Regions from separate parts of the Homo sapiens genome. Here region 2 is linked to region 1. Evidence: promoter capture Hi-C in 16 types of primary human blood cells and fetal thymus (Javierre and others, 2016). All regions are on one chromosome and are shown on one strand. The core of a region is centred on a gene start or on the middle of the fragment in contact, and the rest is flanking DNA. Distances in the headings are between cores, read along the strand shown.

Region 1 (7,497 bases), core at 223-2,722:
CACACTCCTCCAATTCCATGCTCTTGCCCCTTCCCCATCTTTCTGACGGTGTTTTTGTCTACAGCTCAGATTTCTCATTCCTGAAAAATGTTGTCCCTGTCTTTCTCCCTGACTTGCATCTCATTGCAGTGATTTCCAACTGTGTACGCAGAACTGACAGGGTAATCAGGAGTTGTAACTGAGAAATGGAAACAGACAAGAAGGTCTGCTATGAGAGAGTAGGGGCTTGATCAGCTGTGAGGATTTCCAGATGCTACCACCAGAGAAAGATGAAAATGCTGGAATGAGGCAGTCTCATTTATGGCTGCCTTTCTTAGTCAAGAAGCTAATCTGGAAGATGGAGGTTAACACCTTGAATATACAAAATGCCATCATTTTCCAACATTTCAGACAAGGCAAAGAGAAAGAAGGAGAGTCTACCATATTTGGGGGAAAGGCTTTAAAAGGCTGTGCACTGACTAATGTCCAGGATGTTTGGCATCCTGTAAACAGTGTTGCTGGATGATATAAATTGGGTTCACTCTGGCCCCTGCCTATTCATAGGGTGCTATGAGAGTATAGACCAAATGTGTTTAGGACAATGGTGGGGTTCCATGAAGGCATTCTTTCTGCAGATACTGACTTGAGCTTCAAAGCATCCATAGATGAGGAGATGCAGCCCACAGGCTCAGAACTCTTGAAGTAAGTATGAGAAAGATATAATTTAGAGACTGGGAATGTCTTGAAAATAAGAGGTCCCAATGGACAAGATGAAATCAAACTGGGTGGCTGTCTCCCTTTACCCCCACTTCTAATGCAGTGCCATCTGCCAGCAGCAGGTGGCTGCTGTGGTTCCCTTAAGGTAGAACATTTCTGGCTCTTGGGGGAATTGCAAGTAGGGAACTAACCTGGAAGAAGCCTATGACAGCCACCTCAGTGGCAGCAATGAATTCCATGGCAGCTGGGACATCTGTGAGCCACGTGGGTTCCTGGGCAGCACCAGGACCATCTAGAGAGAGAAGCAGAAGATGTCAGGGTACTGAGGCAAGAAGAAGCAGCTCTAAATAATGAGGGCATCTATACCTTTTATCTCTATACTAAGGGCAAGAAGAGCACAATTTATAGGAGTACTGTTGGCATTCCAAGGCATAATATTTTTACTAACATATGGAAGGTGACCCTACTGATGGTCTGTCTCTGAAGGATACTGCCAGACTTCCCTACTCTCTACCAGGCAAAATGCACTTATCCAGGATTTCCTGGAAAGCTTTCTAGGTGTGGAGGAAAAGTACCCAGAGAACCACCATGCTCCCTTTCCTTCTCCTAATAACACTTTCACACTATAGCCACCCAACTACATTTTTCTTTTACCTGAGGATTTCTCAACTTCTGCAGCAACTTCTGCAGCCAGCTCACACGTGAGGAGAAATAAGAGGAACATGAACCTGGACGGGGCAGCTTCCATTGTCCCTCTCCTGCTCCTGCTCCAACCCTGGACTTTGTGTTGGGGAGGCCGACTCAGGGCAGCCTACTCTGTAGCTGATTGGCTGTGGGGTTGTTAGGGCTTTGGGAACTTTGCAGCTGGCTCCAGGGGAGCCTTCAACTTCTGAGATAAAAGACCAAGGTTAGTAATAGGGACTCAGAACATATCCAACCAGAAGAAAGTCAGGTCAGTTTATTTAAATAAAAAATGTAAATATGCTATGCCAGGCATTGATCCTAGCGCTAAGAATAGAAAGATAATTATGATCTGATCCAGCCTCTGCCAGCTTAGATTATCAGTGGGAGAGATGGGCAAGTAAAAAGATTATTTAAATATAAGATGGAAAGTGATATAGAAAAATTCATAGGGTGCTATGACAATACATATTAAGGGTATTAGGGACAATGCTAGGGTTCAATGAAAGTGTTCTTCCTGCGGAGGATGCCGGAGCAGAGTTCTGGGTAAGTAAGATTTTGCCAGGCAACACAAGGTAGAAAGGGAGTTTCATGTAAAGAACTAAAGCACAGGCCGGGCGTGGTGGCTCATACCTGTAATCCCAGAACTTTGGGAGGCTGAGGCAGGTGGATCACGAGGTCAGGAGATTGAGACCATCCTGGCTAACATGGTGAAACCCCATCTCTACTAAAAATACAAAAAATTAGCCAGGTGTGGTGGCGGGCGCCTGTAGTCCCAGCTACTCGGGAGGCTGAGGCAGGAGGATGGCCTGAACCCGGGAGGCAGAGCTTGCAGTGAGCCGAAATAGCACCACTGCACTCCAGCCTGGGCGACAGAGCGAGACTCCGTCTCAAAAAAAAAAAAAAAAAAAAAAAAGAACCAAAGCACAGATATGCAAATATAATGTGTGACAGAATTACTAGTAATTGAGAATGATGAAAAGGAAGGAAGTGATACATGTGGACAGAAAGGCATGTTGGGACCAGCTCACAGCAGGCTTTATATGATACACTAAGCGCGGGAGCATCAATTTTATTCTGTAGGTGATGGGAACCACTGAAAAGTCTTAAGCAGAAGAATGAGATGAAGTTTGATTTTGCTCACAAGTGTCTGAGGAAGTCCAAGATGAGATTTCCACAGGCATTGGGATATGTAGTTTTAAGCTTAGGAGAATTTTCATGTGAAAATATTACAAAAGAAATTAGGAAGCCCTAGCCAGGGCAATTAGGCAAGAGGAAGACATAAAAGGCATCTAAACAGGAAAAGAAAAAGTCAAACTATTTCTCCTTGTTGACAATATGATTGTATGCCTAGAAAGCTCTGAAGACTCTGCCAAAAGGCTACTGGAACTGATGAATGATTTCAGTAAGGTATCAGGAAAAAAATAAGTGTACAAAAATTAGTGGCATTTCTATACAGCAATAATGTCCAGGCTGAGAGTAAAATCAAGAACACAATTTCATTTACAATAGCTACAAATAAAATGAAATGCCTAGGAATACAGATAACCAAGGAGGTAAAATATCTCTACAAGGAGAAATACAAAACACTTTTGAAAGAAATCAGAGGTGACACAAATGAAAAAACACTCCATGCTCATGGGTAGGAAGAATCAGTATCTTCAAAATGGCCATACTGCCCAAAGAAATTAACAGATTCAGTGCTATTCCTATCTAACTACCAACGTCATTCTTCACAGAATTAGAAAAGAAACTATTCTAAAATTTATATGGAACCAAAAAAGAGTCTGACTAGCTAAAGCAATCCTAATCAAAAAGAACAAAAACAGAGGCGTCACATTACCCAACTTCAAACTATACTACAAGGCTACAGTAACCAAAATAGCATGGTACTGGTACAAAAGCAAACACATAGACCAATGGAACAGAATAGAGAACCCAGAAATAAAGTCATATACCTACAACCATCTGATCTTCGACAAAGTTAACAAAACCAATCAATGGGGAAAGGATTCCCTACTCAATAAATGGTGCTGTGATAGCTGGCTAGCCATATGCAGAAGAATGAAACTGCACCCTCATCTTTCACCATATAAAAAGTTAACTCAAGATGAATTAAAGATTTAAGACCTCAAACCATAAAAGTCCTAGAAGAAAACCTAGGAAATACTCTTTTTGACATTAATCTTGACAAGTAATTTTTGGCTAAGTCCTCAAAAGCAATTGCAACAAAAACAAAAATTGACAAGTGGGACCTAATTAAAGAGGTTCTTCAGAGCAAAAGGAACTATTGATAGACAATCTACAAAATGGGAGAAAGCATATGCAAACTATGCATCCAACAAAGGTCTAATATTCAGAATCCATAAGAAACTTAAACAAATCAAGAAGCAAAAAACAAATAACCCCAATAGAAAATGGGCAAAGAGCATAAACAGATACTTCTGAAAAGAAGACACACAAGAGGCCAATAAGCCTACAAAAAATGCTCAACGTTACTAATTATCAGAGAAATGCAAATCAAAGCCAAAATGAGATACAATCTCACACTAGTCAGAATGGCCATTATTAAAAAATCAAAAAACAACAGACACTGTGAGACTGCAGAGAAAAGGGAATGCTTATACATTATTCATGGGGATGTAGCTTAAGCAGTTACGTAGTTCAGCCACTGTGGAAAGCAACTCTAAGTAATGAGGACATCTATACCTTTTATCTCTACAGTAAGGCCAAGGAGAGTACTCCAATTTTTAGGAGTAACGTTAGCATTCCAAGGCATAATATTTTTACGAACGTATGGAGAGTGACCAGTTTGAAGATTTCTCAAAAAACTTGAAACAGAGCTACCATTTGATTCAGCAACCCCATTACTATGTATATATCCAAAGGAAAGTAGATTGTTGTACCAAACAGACATGCACATGTATGTTCATTGTTGTGCCATTCACAATAGCAAAGACACGGAATTAATGTAGTTGCCCATTAATGGTGGATTGGATAAAATATGTGGTGCATATATACCATGATATACTATATGGTCATAATAAAAAAGTAAAATCATGTCCTTTGCAGCAATATGGATGAAGCTGGAGGCCATAATCCTAAGCAAAGCAATGCAGAAACAGAAAACCAACTTCCATATGTTCTCAGTTATAAGTGGGAGCTAAACACTGAACACACATAGACATGAACATAGAAACAGTAGACACTGTGGACTACCTGAGGGGTAAGGGAGGGAGTGGGGCATTTTTTGAAAAACTATCTATTTAGTACTAGGCTCACTACCTGGATGCAATATACCCATGTAACGAACCTGCACATGTACCCTCTATACCTAATATAAAAGTCGAAATTAAAAATAGCTAACTAAATAAGTAAAATGTAGATTTCCCACTGGCTGTATTCTGAATGTGCATTGCCTATTATAGTGTAATAGGGGACCAATTTGTTCCCAAAGATGTAAATATCTCCTCCAGTGTGTTTTCCTCATCCCCATCCCCTCTGAGGGAACTCATGAATGTGAACCATCCAGTTATCATATTTGTTCAAAGCAAGAAAGCAGGGAAATGAAGGTCTCAGCCAGAACACACACAGTTATTGTTTTATTCTTGTTCTCTTGTGTCGTTTACAGTGTCTCTCACAAAAGAAGAACTCCCTCTGGCAGGGGATGTGACTAGGGACTCATTGGGCCAGCAACAACCACAAAAGAATCTAGGCATTAGAATGAACTACTGGAACCTGAGTCAAAGACCTGTTAGTGATAATTTGCCCATTTTCTGGCCTCTAGTTGCTTGAATAGGGGTAAGACAGGGAAATATTAAATGATTGTGTACTGAGATGGAGACGTGGAAGATCTGGCCCTGATGGAGGATCAGAGGGAGCAGGTTGGGTGAAAGCCCGGTTTTAAGCCTCTTGTTCTAGGGACCACGTTGAGTGACAGGGTGGGAAAAGATGCATCAATAAGGAAATGTGGCAGTGTTGAAGAGGGACCCAGCTGTGGACAGGGAGGAGGGACAGGGTGCTGAACACGCCTGAGAGAATTCTTCCAGGTGGCAAGGGTGGGGAAAGGGGTGGATGCATTCATTCTGTCCACTCCTTCTTAATCGACAGGTTCCACTCCCAGCTGAGGTGGTCTTGCTTGTCATCGTCGGTGAAGAAGGACTTGTTGTGGTACGTGCCTCGCGCCAGCATGCCCTTGGGAGCCTCCTCAACTGGAGTGAGGAACTCATACTCCTCAGGCCGAGGTCCATAGCTGCCAACCATAAATGTTGCTTTATCCACTAAGAAGAAAGAAGAGTTCATTAGGGTAAGAGCCTGATAGAGGAAAAACATACACTGCAAACTGGAGAATCTGGACTACAGCCTACAGTGATTAAAGTCAAGAGCAATGGTTTCCAAGCCTAAATAAACATTAGATTTACCTGAGGCATCTTTTTTTTTTTTTAAGATGGAGTTTTGCTCTTGTTGTCCAGGCTGGAGTGCGGAAGCACAATCTCGGCTCACCACAACCTCCACCTCCCAGGTTCCAGTGATTCTCCTGCCTCAACCTCCCGAGCAGCTGGGATTACAGGCATGCGCCACCATGCTTGGCTAATTTTGTATTTTTAGTAGAGACGGGGTTTCTCCATGTTGGTCAGGCTGGTCTCGAACTACCAACCTCAGGTGATCCACCCGCCTCGGCCTCCCAAAGTACTGGGATTACAGGTGTGAGCCACCGCACCTGGCCCTGAGGCATCTTTTTAAAAAAATTATTCTTTAAAACATTTTTTAAGTTGGAGTGCCTTTTAATAATATAGTTTCCTTTGTCCTACTTCCAAAGGCTATGGTTCAGTAACCTTCTGTGGGTCCCAGGGATCAGTGTTTTTAAAAAACTACAAAGTTGATTCTGAGGTAAAGTTGGGGAACCAGTGGCCTAAATCAATGGGGATTAAGCCTGTTTTTTTTTTTTTTGTTGTTGTTGTTGTTTTTTTTATGGAGATATAGCAGATTACACCATTTTAAAAAACTCAGACAAATTGAGACCTCAGTTCTGATCTCAGTCCTGCAATGGCCTAAGTCATATAACATTTTTGAGCCTCCATTTCTTTGTGTATATGATGGACTTTAAGGATCTTCTATCTACAAACTGTCATTCTATGAACATATCAGTTGGGGGAGATAAAGTAACAGATGGTGATGAGAATTCATGGATAGAATAACTGGATGGAACAACAACAGCAGTAAGTTGGTAAAAAAAAAAGTGAAGAACTAGGACAAATGGTGAAAATAGCCAATCAAGTTTATTTATAGGTGGTTAACTGGAATATATATTAAGAATAGTTGGGCATTGAAAAGTATACATAGGCAGATAGGTGGCATATAGTTGGCTAAGTGTTGCTAATAAGTTTGAAAAAACAGTTGCAGACATGTCACTGTCCTTTTGTCTAAGTGAGGTGATACGGGCTTTATGCCCAAAGGAAAATAGGAAATTAAACTTTTTTTTCATGAGACTAGGTATCGGAAAGGCCAATCAATATCTTTCAGGTCAATGGTCTTCTCTGGGATTTGAGAAATTGACTGGTCCTCTATGTCATCCAGATTTATCAGACAATTTCTCCCCTATCTTGCTTATTAATTTGGTGGAAACTGAGACATGCTTTGTTGTTTCTTGCCTCTGGAGGGGACAGACCCTTAGGTAGAAAGGAACTGTAAAGTGCCTCCATCACCTTCCCGCCTCTCATTTCTCCCTGCCTATATTAATGAAAGAAAATTGAAGGCAGGGTCCCAAGGCATGACAAGAAGAATTGCAGATTAAGTAATGTTGTTGTGTTATTTTAATTAGACAGGCTTTTTCAATCCTAGAAAATATTTTTTTTTCTATTTCTTTGTTAGGAAATTGAGCATTGCCTCCCCCTTCCCTCCAATGCCACCCCCACCTACTCCCACCCCAGATACACATGGCACTGGGCAAGTTTTTTCTTTCTTGGTTTTCTCTGACACTTGGGTTTTGTACCTGTGAACTGCCTTTTTTGGTTGTTTACTTTGTAGAGTATTTTTATATACTTTATTTCCTTTAAACTTATCTTGGTTACTCTTCTCCTTTACGAGTGATAATATTGAATCCAAAAAGCTGACTGCTGA
Region 2 (7,230 bases), core at 3,064-5,563, 110 kb before region 1:
TGTTTTAATTATTTTTGTTATTATTTTTATTGAAGCATAGTACCATTTTTGTTTCAACGTATGTATAGCTTTCCTGCCCTTGGCAGGGGGAGTTATCTTCATATTTAGACTATACTTTCAGTTTCTTTATGGTTGCCAAATCGACTTTTATTTTTCATTTGGATTACTGCTTTGCTTTGCAGTGTTGGAACTTATTTGTTGGAGAAATGTCTTCAGAGTCAGAAAAGGATAAAGAGAGACTGATTCAAGCTGCCAAAATGTTCTTCTTTCATGTACAAGATCTTGCTTCTGTCATAAACACACTGACTGAATTGTTTAGCCGCAGTATGAATACTCAAATCCTTTTGATGGCTGTGAAAAACAATAGTTACATTAAGGATTTTTTTGAGCAAATGCTCAAAATTTTTAAGGAGATGCAATCTGTAGTGGATGCAAGACATGACAAAATTCAAAAGGAGTCTTTATGTTCCAAGGTTGCAATGGCCATGTGCTCTGTGGTTCAGAAGAGTACCAATGTAGAGGAGTTGCATCAGTCAGCTAAAGAAGTATTCAAAAGTGCCCATACGCCAGTCATCATCTCTGTGCTAAACAGCAGTAACATCCTTGGGAGTCTGGAATCTTCTCTTTCACACTTGATGAAATTCCCCATCATGAATCTTCAATTAAGTGACTTCTATACAGAAGACACCAAAGAGCAATCAGATGTCACCACATCTGAGAGAACCAGAAGTCCTCCAGGTTCTTCCAAAACCACTATGATAGACACCTTGAAAAAACTGCAGGATGTACTAAAAACTGAGGATTCCAAAAATCCCACAAAGTCAGCAGCAGATTTGTTGGAACAAATTGTCAAGGCTATGGGACCAATCTTAGAGATCCTCCAAAAAGCGATAAAGACTATGGAAATGAATATTTCTGTGTTTAAGAAAGCCAGTGACAAGTAGGGATGCAACAGAAATGTTCATTTCTGTCAGAAAACTACTTAAAATCTTATGGTTTTTCATAGTAGTTTCTAAGATCTTTTGGTGCCAAACATGTGCTATGTTAGAACATAAGTACACAAAAGTCATCTGGCAAAACATTTACCTGTAGTTTTGCTTTATTAAAATAAAAAGAAATAATTAAGAAAGCCTGTTTGAAATGTCAGTCACTAAGAAGAATATATTGTTGAAAAAAACAAAGTGGTATTACATTTGAGGATGTTTCTAAATATTGTGTTTCATCTTAAAGCATAATTAAAACAACCCTAAAGTAGTTCCCACTCTTAACTATTCTATTTCCAGTGAGAAATCCAGGTAAACTGTAAATATTATCATTAGATAGAAAATCTAGGCCTGGGAAACAAAATAAACTCCATTTTTGTCACTCATATACCAATTTCTATATACTTCAGTACCTTGACGATCAGAAGCCATCACTAAATATTTTAAATATGATTCATAAGTAAGTGAGAACAGTGAATGAGCAATAATAGACTTTTCTTGCTTATGTGAGTAAGACCAGAACAGATAGTTCATTCTCACTTGTCTCCTGAGGTCTTATGATTAGAAAATACTAGAGGTGGAAAAATGGAAGTACTCTAGCCTTTCACAAAGAAAAGACTTTCACAAGGAAAACACTTGCAGAAGTAGGATATCTGAGATGTGCTTTATTTAAAGAAATGAGATAGGGCAGTCTCTTTGTCTACCATAAGTCTTTGGTTCTCATGCATTGTAAATGAGTATGTACTCCTAAGATTGGTGTTGAAGTTAACTATTTCACATGATACCTGATAGAACTCTGTTGAGAATAGGAAAAGCAATAATAACTCCAAGCCAAAGCCATCATTGTAATTCCCATTGTCATTTAAAATAAGGAGTCCCTTCTCCATCCTCATATAATTTCAAAATGTTTGGTAGGGAGGGTCAAGTGGATTTTGACCATTACCAGAGCTTGGAGGTTCTGGAAAAAACGATGAGTTTCAATACATTAACTCTCATTTTCTCTCCACAGCAAAGCTGAAACCTTGCTTATTTGTAATAGGTTTCTATTAAGAACTCTATTATTTTGAAGAGGATGTTAAATTGATTCATTTGCTACCATACACATACACACACACACACACACACACACACAGAGGGTGAGAGAGAGGAGAAGGGAGACAGGACTCTCACTTTGCTACTTTTTCTGGACCTATATGTGTCTAGGGTTTCAATCTCCTTTTAGTTTTAGGATTATGTTTCAGAATGTTGGATGCAACAGCTAGGGGGATTCATATGGAAATGAATGAGACAAGGACCAAGAAAAGTCTTGGTGCATAGTCTTTCTGTGAGGTGACTGGAAGAATAGCTGGTGGCAGTTCACAGGAAGTCCTTGCCAGATGCCAATGGGAATGACAACCAGGGTGTTAGAGATGGGAAGTGCCCACTTCAATAAAGATGAGTGGTCTTCCAGTGCTGGTGGCTGTTGTTAGGCTGGTGATCACTTACAGTGTTTCACATTTTCCCACCACTGGGTACCACCAGTCTGACCACTCTAATGACATCATGTCTGCTGCTGCCTCCTGGCTTCTGGAAATACTGAGGAAAAGCTGTATTTTTTTCTCAAACCTATTACTCACATTTAATGTTTCTCTCAAATACTTTGGTTTTGGGTTCCTCTCATTTTCTCTAATATCCTTCAGTTTTTGAAGAACAAAGTGGGGTGTGTTTCTATACTATGCCTGGTCTCATTCCTCCTCTAGGCTGTGAGCATGGGATGGCCTAGCTGTTTGAATGAATCATCAGTAGGGAGGAAAAAGTGAACTGCCACACAACACAACACATGATCATTTACTATTAAAAAAAATGAAATACTATTATACTTGTAATTTTTTTTATTAGTTGCCAGTGTTTGCTGCATCTTGGTATTTCTGAAAGCACCTAATAAATGCTTGTTGAATTTTACCAAATCAAGAGCTAGTTCATTCAGTGTAAATCAATTTGATTCATATTATTAGACAACTCAGTACAAGAATCCTGATTCTTCTAGCAAAACAAACTTTACTGAAATTTTCTTTCATTGGATTTTTTTTAAAGTAAGAGTAAATAGAGAACTTCAGGATAATCTAATAGGCGTATTAAAGAGAACACCTTGTTATAAAAATAAAGTATTACATGGGTTGAGTGTTTTTACTTTTTAAATTTTTCCTGTTTCAATCAGCTTCTTCAGATTAAACAGTATATTTCTGTACACATCAAAAGGAGACATACATGTATTTGTTTAATAAAATTACTATAGGACATAAGTACTCCTTACAGCACAGTCTCTGTTAACAGTTGCATGAATTTACACATATTTGAGCATCCGCCTTATCTTTGGAAGATATCCCAGGCTAACAAATTTATCCCAGCAGAAATTACAGTGAAATTTCTAAAACTAGTCTCTTAGAGTTTCATAAACATGTAACTTAATCAATTTAAATCAATACTCTACAGATTCCTTGCTCAACAACTTTGGACTATAGGGAGAGACTGAGGGGATGTGAGCTATGTACATTTATCCTTAACCAAACTCATGAATCTACATAATTTTAAGAGAATAGTTTCTGTCTCCAGAGATTTGATCTGTAAAACAGCAGCAGGAGTTAGAACTAAGTTATCTTTTTTAGAAACTTGGCTATTCCCTTAAGGATCATAATTGTGTAAGTCACAGTGTTCTCAAATGTTGGTGTATAGCAGAATCATCTAGAGGACTTATTAAAACAGACTGTTCAATTTCTGTAGTCTGTAGTCTGGGATCAGGCCCTAAAATTCACATTTCTAATGAGTTCTTAAAGGATGCTATTGCTGCTTGTGCCTAGAGAGTCAACGCTTTAGGAGAATTGTCTTACTCAGAAAATTATGACTTCTCATGGAAATCAAATGCTTTTGGCTGACTTTTTAGCTTCACTGAGTGGCTTCCAATTTCCTCTCCAGCCCACATTACCCCTCACTCTCTGCCAGACCTATCTGCTCCCTGACCTTATGCTGTACATACATCGATCATTCCGTATTCGCTTCTATTTTCTGCTTTCCTCTAAGTAAAACATCATCTCTGATAGAAAGCTTTATCTAACCATAGGCCAGAGGAATCACATTTTTCTCTCAGCTCCAAGCATTTAATATTTGGCCTTGTTTTGGGCACTACGCACTTGGCACATACTCTTTCTTGTTTTTTTCTCCTTCTGCTCACCCCTTCTCCCAGCCTAGAGCCCTAACGGCTGGTTCAAATGCAGCCTCTTACTTAAAGCCTTCCGGGTGTCTCTTCTTGCCTCAGTTGGAAGAAATCTTTCTTTTGAATTGTTATGAACAGAAAACTTGATTTTTGCCTTTTTTTTTTTTGGCATTTCACTTGTGGCTTGCTTTATGTTCTTAATTTCTCCTAAGAGATTGTAAACTCATGAGAGATCTGGCCTAGTGTTCTTAACTTTTAATCCCCAAAGTGCTTTGTACACAGTATGGCTCAATACATGCATTTATATGGCACAGGAAAAATGTACTTAAGATGTTGGGTGGCTTTTACCAACATAGCATGTCATTACTGACTCATCGATGCTCACTGGAAAAGCTTGCTCCCAGAGCCATGTCCCCAGGACTCTCTACTAGGTAGCCACCAAACTGCCAAAGACCCTATCCTATGCAAGTCACATAAATTGTCTGTTTGTAGAAATTCTTTCTTTTTTTCTTTTTTTGAGATCGAGTCTCACTCTGTTGCCCAGGCTGGAGTGCAGTGGTGTGAACTTGGCTCACTGCACTACCTCCGCCTCCTGGGTTTAGGCAATTTTCCTGCCTCAGCCTCCCAAGTAGCTGGGATTACAGGTGCGTGCCACCATGCCTGGCTAATTTTTGTATTTGTAGTAGAGACGGGGTTTCACCATGCTGGCCAGGCTGGTCTTGAACTCCTGACCTCGTGATCCGTCCTCCTCGGCCTCCCAAAGTGCTGGGATTACAGGGGTGAGCCACCATGCCTGGCAGAAATTCTTTCCTTTATTGACTGTAGAGGCTACTGCAACTAGGTGACAGAGGTGATTTGGCCCTGTTAGTTTCAAATCCCAATTTAAAGAATGATAGTACAGAGATGCCTGAACTCCCTGCCAGGTAATTTTATGTAGCTTATTCCCCATTCCATTTCTTTGATCATGACACAGGCCATTCAGGAAGTCCTATGGAGAGTAAATAGATGGACCGATTTTCAGTTTTGCTGTTTCTTATCCAAATCTTAAAAGGGATAAGGAGCATGGACTTTCAAAATCCAAAATTATAGAGCTAGCCCTCATCTTTACTCCATTTAGCCTGATACCAGGGTCTTCAGTGATCGTGATCGGGTTAAATAATCCCTTATGTCGCTACCTAAATTACTACCTGAGGGAAGCGTTAGAGGACATTTCCAGCTATACAATTCAACAATTTATACTTCTTTGCATGTACTAGTTTACATGTAATGAGACCTCGCTATATTGCTGATATTTGTTTGTAATCAGTGTTTTTTTCTCTCATACTCTCTGTTAACCTTCACACATACCCTCATGTTTTCCTAATATTTAAATTTGCTATGAAGACTTAAATTTGCCATCAAGTTCTCTATGAATTAACATATGAGTTTAAATTTTAACTTTTGTAATGTCTTAGGAACATGCATGAACACCCATTACTGCTGGTGAATGAAATTTCACTAACATCTTTCATTAACTTTCCCTTTTATTTCTCAAGTTTCCATGTGTCTTCTCATCTGAGGCCATACTAGCTTAATCTTGAATGCTCATAAAAAATCTCTGAAGAAAATTCACACCTTGGTTAATCTCTGGGGTTCAAAGCTTTTCTGTTTGGTGAAGAATTTGTCCTTTGCTTTCTAATTTAATCTTCTTTGATTTGTTCCTATTTAGAATAACTAAATTAAAAAAAATAAGGAAGAGTGCTTGTATTCGTTGGAACTTCAACTGCTTGATGCTTGACATAGAAAATCTAATTCAAATTATGCAAGCAAAAACATAAATTATTGATTTATGTAATGAAAAATCTTGTAGTATTCAGCTTTAGGCAAAGTTGGATCCAGAGGCTTATACATTCTCATCAGGTCTCAGTTTCTTTTCACTTATCAGCTCTTCCTTTGTTGTGTTAGATCCTTTCTCAAGGAGATGGGGTCTCCTCTCCTGGTGGCGGGATCTTTGCTGGCAGCTATAAGCTCCTACCCTGCTTTCATTAATATCCATTCAGAAAAGAAGCTCCCATTCTATTTCCAATTGCAATTCCACAAAAGTACCCTGATTGTATCTCACAGGCTCTGATTGGATCATTTTCTATTCCAGCATGAATCTTTGTGTCCATGAAGAAGAAATATACTGATTGGCTAAGGCCTGAGTTACAGGCCAATCACAGTCAGTGGGCTGAGCCAGCTCTGCATCAGTTGCTAGCTGGGCAGAGTGATTTCCCCAAGAGTACTTAGGGTGCCCAGATTGAAATAAGGCAAAGGGGTACAAGGAAAGGCATAAGAGAATTAGCAAAGAGGAGGCCATGCACTGGTTTCAGCAGAAGTATGATGGGATCATCCTTCCTGGAAAATAAATGTCCATTTCTAGCCAAAAGGCCAATAAAAAAGATTTTATTTAAATATTTTTTTTAAATAAAAGGAGCCACAAGATTTCTTTATACTCTGCTTTTGGAAAAGATGATGACACTGGTCAAAAAGGAGAGAGATGCAATAGCTATAGGATCAGGGATGCATTTCTTGCTGGAAGCTGTAAAAAACAAAACAAAGGAAATATTTTAGGTAGCAGAGTTTTTTTTAAAACTACCTCATCTATCCATTGATCCACTTACTTAACTTAGAAAATTCCTAATAAAAACATTTGAAGTTAGCTACTTAAAACACATTATTTTAGATTTTTCTAACATAACTTGCTTATTTTGCAGATGATGAAACAGACACCAAGAGGTTAAAAGATGTACTCCCAGGTAACCCAGCCAGCTGGTGGTAGAGATCTAATTTTCCATCTTTATCATCACCAGCAGCATAATCACTGTTAGCATTATCCCCATCTTAATTATCATCATCTTCATCACCATTATGAAAGTTAACACAGACTGAATGCTGATTTTGTGCTAGGATCTATTTCGAGCCCTTGCTATATATTAACTTAAGCCTCACAACAAACCTATGAGATTTTTATTCTCAATATCCTTGGTTTTTACTTGATGAGATTGTGACACAGAGATGAGAAAAAACTTGCCAGTG

Evidence for each region. Contacts are between HindIII fragments. The CHiCAGO score rates a contact against its expected background, and 5 or more counts as called.
Region 2: a contact is called between a fragment that was not itself captured here and the fragment with the promoter of ERP27 in region 1, in 1 of 17 cell types (total CD8 T cells). The highest score is 5.9, in total CD8 T cells.

What each region holds. Positions count from the first base shown.
Region 1 is chr12:14,937,065-14,944,561 of GRCh38, forward strand. ERP27 (endoplasmic reticulum protein 27) reads right to left here and starts at 1,473. Exons shown (of 7, transcript NM_152321.4): 1 at 1,351-1,473; 2 at 888-988. The coding sequence starts at 1,444. ARHGDIB (Rho GDP dissociation inhibitor beta) reads right to left here. Exons shown (of 6, transcript NM_001175.7): 6 at 4,967-5,657. The coding sequence ends at 5,458. RefSeq lists an enhancer at 929-988. The HindIII fragment of the contact is 1,334 bases long and covers 1,245-2,578 here.
Region 2 is chr12:14,822,730-14,829,959 of GRCh38, forward strand. It overlaps ART4 (ADP-ribosyltransferase 4 (inactive) (Dombrock blood group)), which reads right to left. Exons shown (of 3, transcript NM_021071.4): 3 at 2,840-6,733. The coding sequence ends at 6,642. It overlaps C12orf60 (chromosome 12 open reading frame 60), which reads left to right. Exons shown (of 2, transcript NM_175874.4): 2 at 183-1,686. The coding sequence starts at 207. The coding sequence ends at 944. Among named protein-coding and RNA genes, the nearest start is that of SMCO3, 12 kb to the left of the region's middle. The HindIII fragment of the contact is 502 bases long and covers 4,063-4,564 here.